Linked DNA regions of Homo sapiens: region 2 is linked to region 1. The links are contacts of gene promoters, found by promoter capture Hi-C in human tissues and cell types (Jung and others, 2019). All regions are on one chromosome and are shown on one strand. Each heading gives the region's core, a stretch centred on a gene start or on the middle of the fragment in contact. The rest is flanking DNA. Distances are from core to core; before and after follow the strand shown. Region 1 holds the start of ADAMTS17 (ADAM metallopeptidase with thrombospondin type 1 motif 17). Region 2 overlaps LRRC28 (leucine rich repeat containing 28).

Region 1 (7,492 bases), core at 2,063-4,562:
TCGAAATGCCCCTCCTCCATGGCCACCAAAAATCATCTACTTATAGCCTCCCTTCCCACACCTTATAGCCGAGCCTGTCGTAGCAAATACACACACACACAACTCCACATCTCCACTCACAGAGCTTCTACCACAGTACCACAGTCAAGAGGGACTAACACAACATCATCAGCCACCTGAACTGAGAACCAAAGTCAAAGCTAGTCTGCAATGCAAACTTGGTTAGCCCAAATTCCTGTTGCTTTCTTTTCTTTACGCTTTCAGGACCACCTTGCAAACAAAGGGTCCACCTCCAAGTCACCCCACTGTCTCTTCCCTCCGGCCTTCAGTACGTACAGAGGGGGAAGTGTCCAATGTCCAGCTCACACGAACGGGATGAACAAGGCAGACTAAACAACAGAAGTGTCTGCTCCGGCAGGAATTTAAAAGCTGAAGTCTTAGAGGTACAACCGCCACTGGCACACACTGAACTCAGCCTGTTGGCCAGGTTCCTTTATCTAAAGCACAGCACCCTCACATGGTGCTAAAGGGAAGGACAGTCTTGCCGAGAAGCTGGCTGAGATGCCATCTATGACAGGGCCCAGCCCTCATTCTGCAAGGATTTTAAATCAATGTTATCCAGCTTTCCACCTCGGCGCCTTCACAGATAGCTCCTTGCTGGAAACTTTACACCAAGAAGTATAAACTCTGACCTCTACAGAAACTCACTAAACCGCAGCAAATGGGATTCAGATGTTTCCATGTACAGTACAATGATGTGACTTAGACTTTAAACACTTTGGCAAAAACAGGAAAAATGATGTGGCCCTTCCAGTCCCTCCCAGAACATGATACAGCCTTGACCCGAGCCCTACAGTGATCTGAGCCTTTCTCACTCCTACTTAAGCCTCCTTGCCTACAACCCACATTCCCCGCCCCAGGTCCACATTCCCCGCCCCAGGTCCACATTCCCCGCCCCAGGTCCACATTCCCCGCCCCAGGTCCACATTCCCCGCCCCAGGTCCACATTCCCCGCCCCAGGTCCACATTAGCTCCTTCCTACCAGGCCCCCTCCAAGGGTCTATATCACTTTCCTTGTTTCACCAAAGTTGCCTATTTTTCCCAGCTGAGCAAAAGTCTATCATACCCTAATCAGAACTCAGAAAATTCCTGAAAGGAGAGCCAGACTGATCTAGGAAACTACACACAGAGATACCCGCAGGACTGGGAAGAAAGAGAGGTCTCACATAAGACCTTGCACCCCCAGCCTTCTAGCTTCGTAGATTCTCGAGGACTCGCCACAGACTCTGTGAGTAAGGGCTGGAGAATTCTAGATGGTGGCACAAGAAAAGGTGGAGGTGTGGGGAGCAGTTTCTTGTGCCTGGGAAGGACAGACACAAACTAATATCAGAAACTGCCTCCCCAGAGGCCAGTCATGACAGAAGACAGAGAACCCCTGCGGTTCATGCTCTGGGTCCATACCAAGCTTCGCTGGGGGCAGCCCATCTGCCGGCCATGTGTGCGGCTTTCGGGGCACGATGGAGAAGCTGAGTGCTCGTCTGGGCGCCAGTGTAGCCACATGATCAAGTGTGCGCGCAGGCAGGGCAAGTGCACACAAGAACCCCCCCTCCCCCTGGGAGCACCTGTTCCGGGTGCCTCAAATGCAACAGGCCAGGAACTTCGGGGCAGGGAAGTTACTGCCACAGCAAGGGAGCTCCTGGGGGCAGGAATAGGGTTTATCACCAATGTAAACACCCCTCAGGCCTGGTTGGGGGTGGGCACCAGATAAATGCCTACTAATAGTATAAGGAAGCAAAGACAAACACCCTTTCTCTCCTGTTTCTTACGTTTCAGCTAGGAAGAGTGGGGTGAGCCGTGGCCTGTCTGGGTACCTCTCCAAACTTCCTGTTCCAGGTACAGAGAGAAGACTCAAAAGGAAGGGAGGTGAATGCCCACTCCCCCACCTCCAAGTCCAAGAACATAACACCTACACGTACACAGGTACTCCCGTGACATACACTTTGACACGGCGGTGCAGATGCAGTGTTCTCTACATTGGGGCCAAGGCGCCTCTGTCCAGGGCCCTGACAGTTTCATCCCTGCCAGATCTGCGCTCCCTAGAGCGGGCGGCGTATACCCCACGCAACCCCAGCTCCGCGCGGGTTCCACGGGCTGCAGAGGCGCTGGACTGGGATGCTGCCCCTCCCACCCCCTTTGCCTATAGAGGGTACCGAAGGCCGGGGTGGGGGATGGGGAGAGGTGGAAAGGCAGGGGGTTCCCTCCGGTTCCCCTGGAGGCTGGACTTCCAGCAGAGGCGCCCCACCCCCACCCTCCACGGCGACCACTCTGCGTCGCAACAGACCGGACGGGCCGACCCGGAGGTGGCGCGGGCAGTACCAGGCCGCCGGCGGCGCCGCAGGCGCTGAGCGAGACGAGGGAGCCGGGGTGGCCGAGCACACGGCCCGAGTAGAAGCACAGCTCGGCGGGGCGGCCGCGGCGCCGGGCCGCGCCCGCCTCCTCCACCTCGAAGCCTCGGGACAGGAAGCGCAGGTCGCGGCGCAGCTGAAGGTACAGGTCGCGCCCGAAGGCCGGCAGGTGCAGCAGCAGGGCGCGCTCTCCGGGCCGGGCGCGCGGGGCGGCTGGGGGCGTGCGGGGGCGTCGCCGCCGTCGGGGCCCGGGGGCTGCGGGCAGCGGCGGCAGGTGCACGTCGTCGGGGCGCACCCGCCACGGGAGCACCACCTCCACGTCGGCCGCCGCGTCGCCGACAGCTGCGGGGAGAGAGGAGACGCGTCAGCGCGGCGGGGCCCGCCCGGACGCCCGCCCTCCCGCTGGCCGCCAGCCGCGCCAGCGCGGGGACAGCGCGACCCGGAGCCGGCGCTGCCTTCCCTTCCCTCGCCCGGCACCTCCACGCTGGCCCGCGCCACCCGGGGAGGGTCTCCGGCGCAGCCGCGCGAGCACCTCCCGGAACGGCGCCGCGCATCGGCGAGCGGAGACCCGGCGGCGGCGCGCCTGCCACGGAGCCACCCGATTCCCGTACTCCGGCCGCGGCCCGCGCCTCCTCCGCTCGGGCGCCGTCAGCGGTCCCGCCGCCGCCCCCGGGCCGCCAGGACGCCGCGAGAACGCAGAGGGAAGGTAGCCGCAGGACGCGGGGTGAAGAGGGCTGTGGGAGGGGGCGCTACCTGTGCCCGGGTCCAGTCCCCAAACCAGCAGCAGCAGCACGGGCAGGACGAGCGGAGGCAGCAGGGCGCCGTCACACATGGTACCCGGGACCGGCAGCCCCCCCGGACCGTGGCGGCGAAGCAGGAGCGCGCTAGGCGGCGGCGCCAGCCGGAGTGAAGCCCTCCAGCCTTTGGAAAAAGTAATTAGCGCTGCGGACAAACCCAACGTGGTAAACCCCAAGCCCCGCCTTCCCCTCGGAAGGCGGGAGGGGATTGGGCCCTCGCTTTCCTCCGCCCCGCCTCCTCCTTCCCTACTGGTTGGGATGGGTCGAAACCACAGTGCGTAGTTAGGTTGTCAGCGCTTTCTTACACGTGGTTTCTGGGCAGTGGCGGGGACACGGCACCAGGTGGCGCGCGGGAGCCGACCGGAGCCGTGGGACCCTGGAAGAGCTGGAGGATGCGGGGCTGGTCTTCAGAGCTTGTCCTCATTTTGGAACTCTCTCAGCCTGCTGCCCAGTTTCCCGGGAAGGTAGGGCGGAAATCGCCCCGGCCAAGCGGTTTCATCCAAAACTGCATATAATCTTTACATCTGAAGTTAGGTTTTAGTTGTTTGTGGCCGCAAAGACTCCCAGTCCACTTTCCCGCACACCTGAGTTAGCACCTGAAGGCTATATCCGCGGCGTTTATCCAAACTCTTCACACCTCCTGTCTTCTTTAATCCCACAGGAGCCAGTGCAACACGCATGCTCACACCCTCTTACAGACTGAAAAACTGAGGAAGAGAGAGAGCTTAAGGAAAAACGCTGAAGTTACCCAGAGAGTTCCTGTTGGAGCAGAGGCTAGAATTTGTGATCCTGATTTCTGGCTTGGTGCTTCTTATTAACAGCAGGATCCCCCCGCCCCGAGGGAAGCAGGACTCAGTGTTACAGGTTAGGAAACGGAGGCACAAAGTCCCAAAGCCTAGCCTTGAACGTGAGTCTCCCAGAAACAGAATGAGTTGATCCTTTCCTGCCACAATATAACTGAGGTCTGCAGGGAAGGTGACTCCATTAGCTTGCTGAATAGCATCTTGTAGAGGCTCATGCCTGTAATCCCAGCACTTTGGGAGGCCAAGGCGGGCGGGTCACGAAGTCAGGGGTTCCAGACTAGCCTGGCCAATATGGTGAAACCCTGTCTCTACTAAAAATACAAAAATTAGCCAGGCGTGATGGCGCACACCTGTAGTCCCAGCTACTCGGGAGGCTAAGGCAGAAGAATCGCTTGAACCCGGGGGGTGGAGGTTGCAGTGAGCCGAGATTGTGCCACTGCACTCCAGCCTGGGCAACAGAGCAAGACTCCATCTCAAAAAAACAAAACAAAACCAAACAAAACAAAAAAAACAATTAAGTGTAACCATAACCAATCTCAGGTTTCCCGTCCCTTCCCTGTCCTGCTCTTTTCCATTTTATCATAGCAGAAAGGTTATAGTTCCCCGCTGGATGCTGCTTGAAGCCTCGGAATCTAAATTCATCACAGGATTACATATCATCTGAAGGAATCTATAACACTGGCCACCTTCCCCGAAATATAATGAACCCCAAGGCTGAACAGTGACCCTCCACAGAGGCTTGCCACAAAAGGGGCTGCCCTCACTGCTTGGCACCTACAGTTCTGGGGGCATCTGCACAGGTCCTGCTCTTGGCCAGGCCTGGGGCTGTGTTTCTCCCCCTTGCCTCTGTCCAGGTCAACAACCTCAGATGACTGACAGCTCAGTAGCATTTTCTGGCAGCACAAGAAACCTTGGTGATTGAGGTGATGGACACCTCATTTACCCTGATGGGATTATTACTCATTGTATGGCCATATCAAAAAATTTCATGTATATACATTTTGTAAACATATACACCTACTACGTACTCACAAAATATTAATTTTTTTAAAGATATCACAGTAAGTTTCTTAGTGAATCTTTTTGTCAAAAAGAGCCATTTCTAAGGCCTGCCACTGAAAACCATGGAGTATGGGCCACACCACCTCACAAGCGCAAGTCAGCCTGAAGTAGCCATCACCAACCTATCAAGAACCTATCCAAGATGCTCAAATGCTAAAATTAGTCCATAGGGACATGAAAACTAAAACAGAAAGATACTATTTTATCTCCCAACTAACCAAAATTAAAGAGCTTAGAAAAATCAAGAATTAGAGAGGACACTCTCCTACCTAGGGGTGGAGAGTATAAATTGGCACAGCCACTCTGAGGAACAATTGGGCAAACTGTAAAATTAAAGTTTTACTTTTTAGTTTTAATAAAACTAAAAATGCACACATTCTACAACTCTGTAATTCCACGCTGGTTAATTACTCCAGAGAAACTCTGGCACATGTACAAGAATGTTTGTTCACCAGGGCACCTTATTAAGAGCAAAAAATTGCAAAAACCTGAATGTTCATCGTTACATAAACGGCTACTTGAACACCATTAATTAAAGGAAATACAAAAATCTCATATATGTAACAACATGGACAGATCTCCAAGATCAGTTATCGAATTTTTTAAAAAATCAAGTTGCAGAATGAGGCACACCGAAAAAAAAATGTGTATAAACACACAGACACACATGACATGATCTGCATGGATTCAGATAAGTGTACATAAAATCCAAGAGGAAAGTCTGGAATAATACAAGCCAAACTTTGTTAAGGTTTATTGTTCTTTTTGTATTAATTGCATGCTGAGGAAAGGTACTACAAAAGGAAAATGAACACCTGGGACCCCAATTCACTCTGCCAAAGGAAAAAAATCAAGCTGAAAGCTGAGTCAAGCAATCAGCTGCCTTTTCTTCTGTTCCTAAGCAGACAGCGACAGATAAAAGGTTCAACATCTCCACAGGTAGCTGGTAGAGTAAGAGGGAGAAAGAAGAAATGGTAAAGTGACATGAAGGCAAGACGGTGTTCCGTGACTCCGTGCTGCTCCTGTCCCTGTATTGGATTCCAGCACCAGGGGCCTGTGTCTACTGCTGCACTGTTGAAGACACTGTCACGGTTATCATGGTTGATTCTGGATCTACCAAAGTAGTGCTGCCTTGACCGGGGCCCAGTTCTCATTGCCACACCAGCAACTTCCAGCACCTGTTAACATGGAATCCTTACCTCTGCCTCCTGCCATCTAATCTCCTGCCAGGGCCTCTTTTTGGCAGAAGCTAGCAAGAAGCCTAAGAAAATGTAAGGGAGTCAGAGAATGAAGGTTGCAGACTTTCAGCTTCAGTAAAGAGCAGAACATGGAAGTGGGTATGTGGGGCTGGGAGACAGAGCCGCTGAAGGTCTTAATCTGACCACCATGAGTCTGAATTCCCTTTGCCCTTCATCCTTGTATTCACCAGTCATATTAAAAGTTTAAGCTTCCATGCCTTCCACTTTCTCTTTCACAGCATTTCCTCCACAATACTGTGAACTGCCTTCCCCTACCCAAATCCAAGATCCTCCTCAGTCTTGAAACCTTCCCACTGTGCCCTTAAGAGCTGCTGCTCCATATCCTAGATCTGCTGCCTCTTCTCTGAGCGTTCTGTACTTACGAATGGAACTCCTTTGAAAATGTAAGGTGGCAACAAAATTCACATTTCTCAGCATCTTTTTTCCCCTAAGGATGGTCACTTGTCACAGTTCTGGCCACTGTGATAGAAGGAGAAGCTACTGGCTAGAGTTCTAGCAGAGTTCATTTGAGGAGCTTCCTTCTGCCGCTGTATACCCCTTTTCACTGTGTCTCTTCCTCTTTGCTCCTGACTAGAATTTGCATGTGATTCCTGGAATTCCAGCAGCCATCTCGTAAGCATGAGGAAGAGTGCCAGACCCCTGGGAAGCAAAAAGATCAATGAACTCTGGGTTGCTGATGACATCTTGGAGTCACCATGCCAGACCTGAGCTGTCTACTTCTGCACTTTTTGCTATATCAGAAAAAAAATATACTCTTGTCTCTTTTAAGCTGTTGCTATTTGGGTTGTCTGTTATATGCAGCCAAACTCGACCCCTAACAGACACACATATAGACAACTCCCATCCCCCACCCTGGGCTCTGGGCTCCTCAATTTCCTCCTTCAGTGACCTTCTGTGCTATGCTGCCCCAACTGTCCACTCTCAAATTCACACCCTACACCTTGTCATCACCCCTAGCTGTTCCACCTTCCAAAACTTGAACATCCACCTCTGACCACAGCTTCTTGTCCTCCCAGCATGCTCGTCCAAATGCTCCTACCTCAGAAGGTCTCTCAGTCTGCATCTCCCAACCCACCAGCCTCTCTTCACTTGCCTCCATATCCAGCTTGCATTCCAGGCCCCATGACTCTGAAAACACTCTTGCCAATATGCTCAGCACCCTCCCC
Region 2 (7,492 bases), core at 1,612-4,111, 1.1 Mb before region 1:
ACCGGGAGCGGGAATTAAGTTTTGTTATTAGTTTGGTTCATTTTGAATTCCAGAGCAAGGACTTCTTGTTTTTCTCCAGTCTGTTGGATCCTTGCAGCTTGAACTGCTGCTAGGGTGCAGGGCCTCCATAATCGCCATGATTGCACTGTTCTTGAGCTAGCTCTGTATAAAAGCATCTCTGTTTCTTAAATTGACTATGTGGAAATATGTGAGTATATCAAATAGTAAAGCATTCTAATGGTCCGTTAGTGTTTTAGTGTTTGTAAGTAAATGTGGTACAGTTCTGGAAAACAGCCATTGCACATTTATCCTGTCTTCATAATACACATGTGCCTGAAAATTAAGTTTTGTTACAACAGCTTCTTTTCCTGTTGAATTTTCAGATTTAGAAGCTTTTCTGTCATTGTTACTGATTCCTTGTCAGTAATGTGAAACGGTGATTCCTTGTCAAATAATTAAGAAACTCAAGCCTCTCACATGTCATAATGACTTTCATTTTTCAGGAAAATGAACGTCTGTTCCATAACTTAACTCTATTTATGGAGTCATAGGATTTTAAAGCTAGAAGCTTTATTTATAATTTAGACAATTTTTCTTTTTGAGGAAACTAAGAAGAGGATAATGGCTGGTTCTAAAGTCACTTTTCAGTGCAAAAATAAGGTCTCCTAATTTGTGGTCCAGTTAGTTTTGCTTCATTTTAATTCTGTAGATATTTATTGATAACCTCTTCCTAGCCTAGCACCACCATGTCGTTAAAATTTAACCACGTTTATCGACTGTGGAGAAATGAAGTGCTGCATGTTAAGTGAATTTTCCCAGTTAATTTTTGTAAAGTCTGTGTCTGAGTTTTCCTGTGAATAAAAGTCTAGCTTAATAGAAATATTTTTAAACATGTATCATTCTTTGCTTTTTAAATGAAATGTAGGGAACCTGACTTAGCATATACCCTGTAATTTGTAGTTTCTGCCTAGGGAGTTAGGAGGGGGACAGTTTAGAAAGAGGTGGCAGGGCTAGGGGTCTTTTCTTAGAACAGACCATTATCTTGTGTACTCGAAGGGTGTTATTTGCAAGCAAAAGACTCAAAACCATTGGTGTATGTATGTTTCCACAAGTTTAAATTCATTTTTCAGGCATTCACTTTAATGAGGCACCTGTGTACTGGAAGTGAGACACCAGTGCCTAACTGTTAGTCCCATCGAATCAGTCAACAAATACATACGTTATGTAAGTAAGGCACTTGTACACGGATCTTGGAACATGCTCCCCACCCCACCCCCGCAAAACCAAACAGTTATGTCATAAACTTACAGAATTGTTCAAGCTAGGTGTAATCTTAAATCATTGATCTGGCTTAATGGGAATGTGTTTGGTATTCTATTTTTGTGTGTATTTTTATATTGCTTTGAAAATTGCATTTATAAAATCATACTTATGGCATGTTTATTAAATAGGTTTTTTTAAAAATAAAAAGCTGGAGAAGACACTTGATGCTTGTAACCTCCAACCCTTGTTTCCGACATTTACATAACTTAAAGTTTTAACAAATATTAAGATAAACACTTCAAGAGGCATTTCAGCAATTTTTAATGCCTGTTTTTTCTTTTGAAAAATCTTTTCTTGGCAATCAAATTTCTATCAAATTCAGAAACATTGTATTTTTGTAAATGTACTGGATGTATAGTTTTTTTTATTTTGAGCTCATTCTGTAAGTTTTTGCTAAGTTAAAAATATCAGTCTTGATGTTTGTTTTACATTTTTTGCCAGAAAACATTTGTAGATTTGAAGATACTTAAAATATTTTCATTTACATTTCTTAAGATGACAATTTTAATTTCTACAAATGCTAAGCAAATACTTTCATTTATTTCTAAGAAAAATAATCTAAAACATTTATCATTCTTACAGTTAAGTAGTTATTCTTCATGTTTTACATTTGAAAGAGCTGAGTTTAAGTGAAAAATCAGTAGTGAATATGAAGGTATGAATTCTGCACACTTTACCAGCCACATGTGCTGTTAACTTTTTTTTTTTTTGGAGACAGAGTTTTCACCCAGGCTGGAGTGCAGTGGCACGAACTCAGCTTACTGCAACCTCTGCCTCTCAGGTTCAAGTGATTCTCCTGCCTCATCCTCCCGAGTAGCTGGGATTACAGGCACCCGCCATCACGCCCAGCTAATTTTTGTGTTTTTAGTAGAGACGGGTTTCACCATGTTGGCCGGGCTGGTCTTGAATTCCTGACCTCAGGTAATCCACCTCCCTCAGCCTCCCAAAGTGTTAGGATTACAGGTGTGAGCTACCATGCCTGGCCTTAACATTTAAATTAAAGTAAAATAATATTAAAAATTCAGTTCCTCCATCACATAGCCACATTTTAAGTGCTTCATAGCCACATGTGGCTAGTGTCTGCCATATTGGACAACACAGATAATGTTTCCATCATGGCAGAGAGAGAAACAAAGGAAAATGAGTAATTATTATGAAGTGAGTCAAGAGACAAAGGTAATGGTAACTAGGACCCTGAAGGCATTTATGCTACTGGGGAAGAAGAAAGAATGCTGGTTCCTTCATTCTGTACCATTAGCCTGCTAGGGTTTCTGATTCCTCTGTTGATAAATATTGCTCTATGACATATATAAAAATGGAGGGAAATACTGGAGAAGGAATGGACAAGTTGAAAAGAGGTCTACCACAGTTTTAAAAAATCTGGACACGTGGTATTTAACTCATGTCGTGTACCTGCTCAGAAGCAATGACATCAACTTATTGATTCAACTAAAAAGCTTGTTAAGTGTGTTGTGGTAGTTTGTGAATGAAGTACTTTTTATTCCTTCAGTGCCAAGACTTCATTAGCTTTTTAAAAACGAAAACGAATTTATTGGGGTGAAACTGACATAACATAAAATTAATCCTATTGAAATGACAATAGGATTCAGTACATTCACCGTGGATGCAGCCACCTCTGTCTAGTTCCAAACATTTCGTTCACTCCAGAGTAAAACCCCTCACCCATTAAGCAGTTCCTCCCCATTGCCCCGCCCCCACCCTCAGCTCCCACACCCAGCCCTGGTAACCAGCAATCTGTTTTCTCTCTGGGTTAACTCTAGATATTTTATATAAATGGGATCACAAAATATGAAACTTTGTGTATCTGGCTTCTTTCACTTAGCAAAATGTTTCCAAGGTTTATCCAAGTTTTAGCATATATCAGTACTTCTTTTTTTGTGTGTGATTCCGTAGGGATTCCATTGTATGGCTATACCACCATTTGTTTACCCATTCATCTACTGATGGACATTTGGGCTATTTCCACTTTTTAGCTATTGTGAATAGTGCTGCTATGAACATGAATGGACATGTTGAAGGACCTGTTTTCAGTTCTTTTGGGTATATAAATAAGAGCGGAATTACAGGGTCATACGGTAATTTTATGCTTAACTTTTGAGGAGCCACCAAAAAGTGGCTGAGCCATTTTACATTACCGCCAGCAGTGCACAATGGTTCCAGTTTCTCCACATTCTTGCCAACACTTGTTACTTTTCTTTTTTTGTTAGTGTTACAGCTGTCATAGTGGGTATGAAGTGTCACCTTATTGTAGTTTTGATTTGCATTTCCCTAATGCTAATGATGTTGAGCATCTCTACATGTGCTTGTTGGTCATTTGCATATCTTCTTGGGAGAAATGTCTGTTCAGATCCTTTGCCCATTTTTTAATTGAGTTGTTGTTTTGTGGTTGAATTGTAAGGGTTCTTTTTATAGTCTGGATGCTAGACCTTTGCCAGATATATGATTTGTAAGTATTTTCTCCCATTCTGTAGGTTGTGTTTTTTATTTTCTTGTAGTGGCCTGTAATACACACAAGTTTTTACATTTTGATGACATCCAGTGTATCTATTTTTTTTTTTTTGAGATGAGTCTCATTCTATTGCCAGGCTGGAGTGCAGTGGCACCATCTTGGCTCACTGCAACCTCTGCCTCCTGGGTTCAAGCGATTCTCCTGCCTCAGCCTCCCAAATAGCTAGGACTACAGGTGTGTGCCACCATGCCCAGCTAATGTTTATATTTTTAGTAGACATGGGGTTTCACCATGTTGGCCAGGATGGTCTCCATCCCTTGACCTCATGATCCACTTGCCTCAGCCTCTCAAAGTGCTGGAATTACAGGCGTGAGCCACCGCATCCAGCCCTATTTTTCTTTTATTTATTTATTTATATATTTATTTAGAGATGGAGTCTCACTCTGTTGCCCAAGCTGGAGTACAGTGGCGTGATCTCAGCTCACTGCAACCTCCCCCTCCTGGGTTCAAGGGATTCTCTTGCCTCAGCCTCCAGAGTAGCTGGTACTATAGGCGCATGCCACCACGCCCGGCTAATTTTTTTGTATTTTTAGTAGAGATGAGGTTTGACCATGTTGGTCGGGCTGGTCTCGAACTCTTGACTTCAAATGATCCACCCACTTTGGCCTCCCAAAATGTTGAGATTACAGGCTTGAGCCACTGCACCTGGCCAGTGTATCTATTTTTCTGTTGCTGCTCATGCTTTTGATGTAATAGCTATGAATTCATTGCCAAATCTAAGATTATGGAGATTTACTCCTATGTTTTCTTCTATGAAGTGTGGTTTTAGCTCTTAAATTTAAGTTGTTGATCCATTTTGAGTTAATTTTTGTATATGGTATGAGATAGTGGTCCAAATTCATTCTGCTTTCTTCTGCTTTTTATAGCTTGTATAACAACCCAAATGCATTTAATCTGTGACTTCTTTGAAATGTGTTGTTAGAAGCCAGGATGGAGCAGGTTTTGCCAAACCCTGAGTCCTAGTGGCTTGTAACAGCACACATATTTCTTGTCTACACTGTACTAGTCTCTCAGAGCCTGGAGCCTCTGCCCAGGAATGAAGCTGACAAAACGTCCACCGTCTGGTGGTCACTGTGGAAGGGGTGAGGTCTTTTGCACTCAATCTTGTCAAGGCTTCCTCTTTGGCTTAATTTCACTGACCAAGCTAGTCACTTAGCCATGGCCAGCTTGATGAAAGATGTGCAGTCCTAGCAGGTGTTCGGAAAGAGAAGGAAAGAAAGTAGGTAATGCACAGTGCCCACCAGAAAATACTATTGAACATGGTGGTGTTTGCAAAATATTTGACGTATTTGTTCCAAGTTAAAAAATTTTAAAACATTCCCATTTAAGTGGAGTCTAAAAGAATATGGTAAAGCATCATTGATTCAGAATTTGGGGTAAGTTTTATACTAACTGTGCTTGCTGAAGTTTACTTTTTCATTATTGTAAAGAAAAGTTGTTTAGCTAGATAATAATGTAAATGAGATTTAATGAAGAGAATCCTTGGCTTGATTTAGAGAAACAATTTCTAGGTAATTTAGTAGGAGGTATCTGAGTACATGTTATGTTTATCTGATAAACTTTTCTGTTTCAAATTGTGAAAAAAGAAGGTAATAATAGATTTGAGAAGCACTTTAAGACTATTGCTTTTATCAGGATTTTAAATTTAAAAACATTAAAAAACTTCATAGCTTGTAAATCCTATGGATTAGGATACACTAGTTTGTGTGGCTTCTGTAATCCAACATTAGAGCTTAGTTACCCACAAAGTAACAAAAATTCTGACATTAATTTCTAGTTGTCTAGTCTCTTATATGCTGTACCTAAATTATAGAAGTGTAAAAATTAAAACGTATAACATTTCTCAGCTACATTGCTAAAAATATGGCATTAGAAAACAGAGAGTGATATTATGGAACACCAGTAGGTGTCAGTCACAGCCTGTGCAAGGGCTGATTACTTGCCAGGAGTTTTGGGCATCTATTCCTAAGTGTGTGGTGTGTTTTTTTTTGTTTGTTTTTGTTTTTTGAGATGGAGTCTCACTCTGTCACCCAGGCTGGAGTGCAGTGGCGCGATCTTGGCTCACTGCAAGCTCTGCCTCCCGGGTTCAGGCCATTTTCCTGCCTCAGCCTCCTGAGTAGCTGGGACTACAGGCACTCACCACCACGCCCGGCTAATTTTTTGTATTTTTTAGTAGAGACAGGGTTTCACCGTGTTAGACAGGATGGTCTTGATCTGCTGACCTCGTGATCTGCCCGCCTCGGCCTCCCAAAGTGCTGAGATTACAGGCGTGAGCCACCGTGCCCGGCCGTGTCTGTGTGTTTTAAGGCGTTATTCTAATGAACTGCAATTTTCTCAAAGTGAATGTGCTTATTTTTAAATAAAAACACAATGTATCTACTTGTTAATAAAGACATAGAGATGCTCTATTGGCAACAGAAGCATTATTTCAGTGCTTAATTGTGTGTAGAGCTACACCTCAAAAGAACTAACTAGTTTGTCATGGAAAGATTAGAATGCTATTTGATGGAGCCAAGTAGACATCCAGAAAGAATGACCGTGGAGTGTGTGAATTAGCCAGATATAGTATTGGTATTAGCAGATGAAACTAGGTGAAGGTCTAACAGTCAAACAGCATTTCTTTTTGGACAAATCTTTCCTTTTTATAGGAACAGCTATAATTAAGGCCCTCCACCCACTGGTTCCCTAGTTTTTCTAGGATGCTTTGTATGTATGCCCATAAACGGAAGCGTATATTCTCAAGGGAGATACTGATAATAAAAACAAAACATTCCAGGGATTTAGACGGATCCACAAGGAACATCTGAGAAATGACTAGTTATGATGGATCTTGTTGCATATATCAGTATAGAAATATGGGGCAAAAAGAATCACAGCTTTCAGCATTTGAAAATGAAATACAAATGGTACTGTCAAGAGTGAGTATTCAAAAATGCTTCCTTGACTTCATAACAATATTCATATTCAATGATACTTGGTTATCACAAAAGGGAAGGATATGTATATATAAGCAGTTTGTGATACTGTTGCTAAGTATTTAAATACATCAGTATGCCAGTATGACATTAATAATGACATTTTCTGGTTTAAAATAAACCAGTGATTTTCCATTGTGTTCAGGATTTTTTAAAAGCTAGTCCTTAGTATAAAATATAAGCCTTTAGTGTTCTGTTCCTTGCCATTCTCTGTAAAATCTCACATCTTCATACCTAATGGCCCAGACATACCAAACTAATGTCATTTGTCTTAGTGAGTGTTTAGATCTCAAATTGTATATAACTGATTAATCAATTGTATAACAGCTTATGCTGCACACAGCAGATCTTAAAATTCAATTTTAATTTTTTCAATTATAAAAGACACATGCTTATTTTTAAAAATTCAAGTTTATGAAAAATTTCTTGGTTATTTAAAATAGTCAACTTTCTAGTACCTAACACGTTAGTTTTTCTATTGACATGATTGTTTTTCTAACAGGATTTTTGAAAATGTAAGATTTCTTCGGGAGTGCTGTTATGTAGTTATAGCAGAATGGATTGTATTTGCAGTTTCCCAATTGTACTTGTTCTCTTTTGGCTTTTCATATGTTGCTTCTTGTGCTTAGAAAGCTATACAGAACTACTCTCCTCTCCATTCCAT

What was found. The method cuts DNA at HindIII sites, captures the fragments that hold promoters and counts their contacts. A contact is called where the count stands out against the background at its distance.
Region 2: a contact is called between a fragment that was not itself captured here and the fragment with the promoter of ADAMTS17 in region 1, in 1 of the 25 tissues and cell types used here (dorsolateral prefrontal cortex).

The regions. Positions count from the first base shown.
Region 1 is chr15:100,338,663-100,346,154 of GRCh38, forward strand. ADAMTS17 (ADAM metallopeptidase with thrombospondin type 1 motif 17) reads right to left here and starts at 3,313. Exons shown (of 22, transcript NM_139057.4): 1 at 3,159-3,313; 2 at 2,377-2,747. The coding sequence starts at 3,237. SPATA41 (spermatogenesis associated 41) reads right to left here. Exons shown (of 2, transcript NR_028139.1): 2 at 5,795-6,965. RefSeq lists an enhancer at 1,647-2,165. The HindIII fragment of the contact is 7,903 bases long and covers 234-7,492 here.
Region 2 is chr15:99,267,395-99,274,886 of GRCh38, forward strand. The region is part of intron 2 of LRRC28 (leucine rich repeat containing 28); the gene reads left to right. Among named protein-coding and RNA genes, the nearest start is that of LRRC28, 20 kb to the left of the region's middle. The HindIII fragment of the contact is 5,601 bases long and covers 62-5,662 here.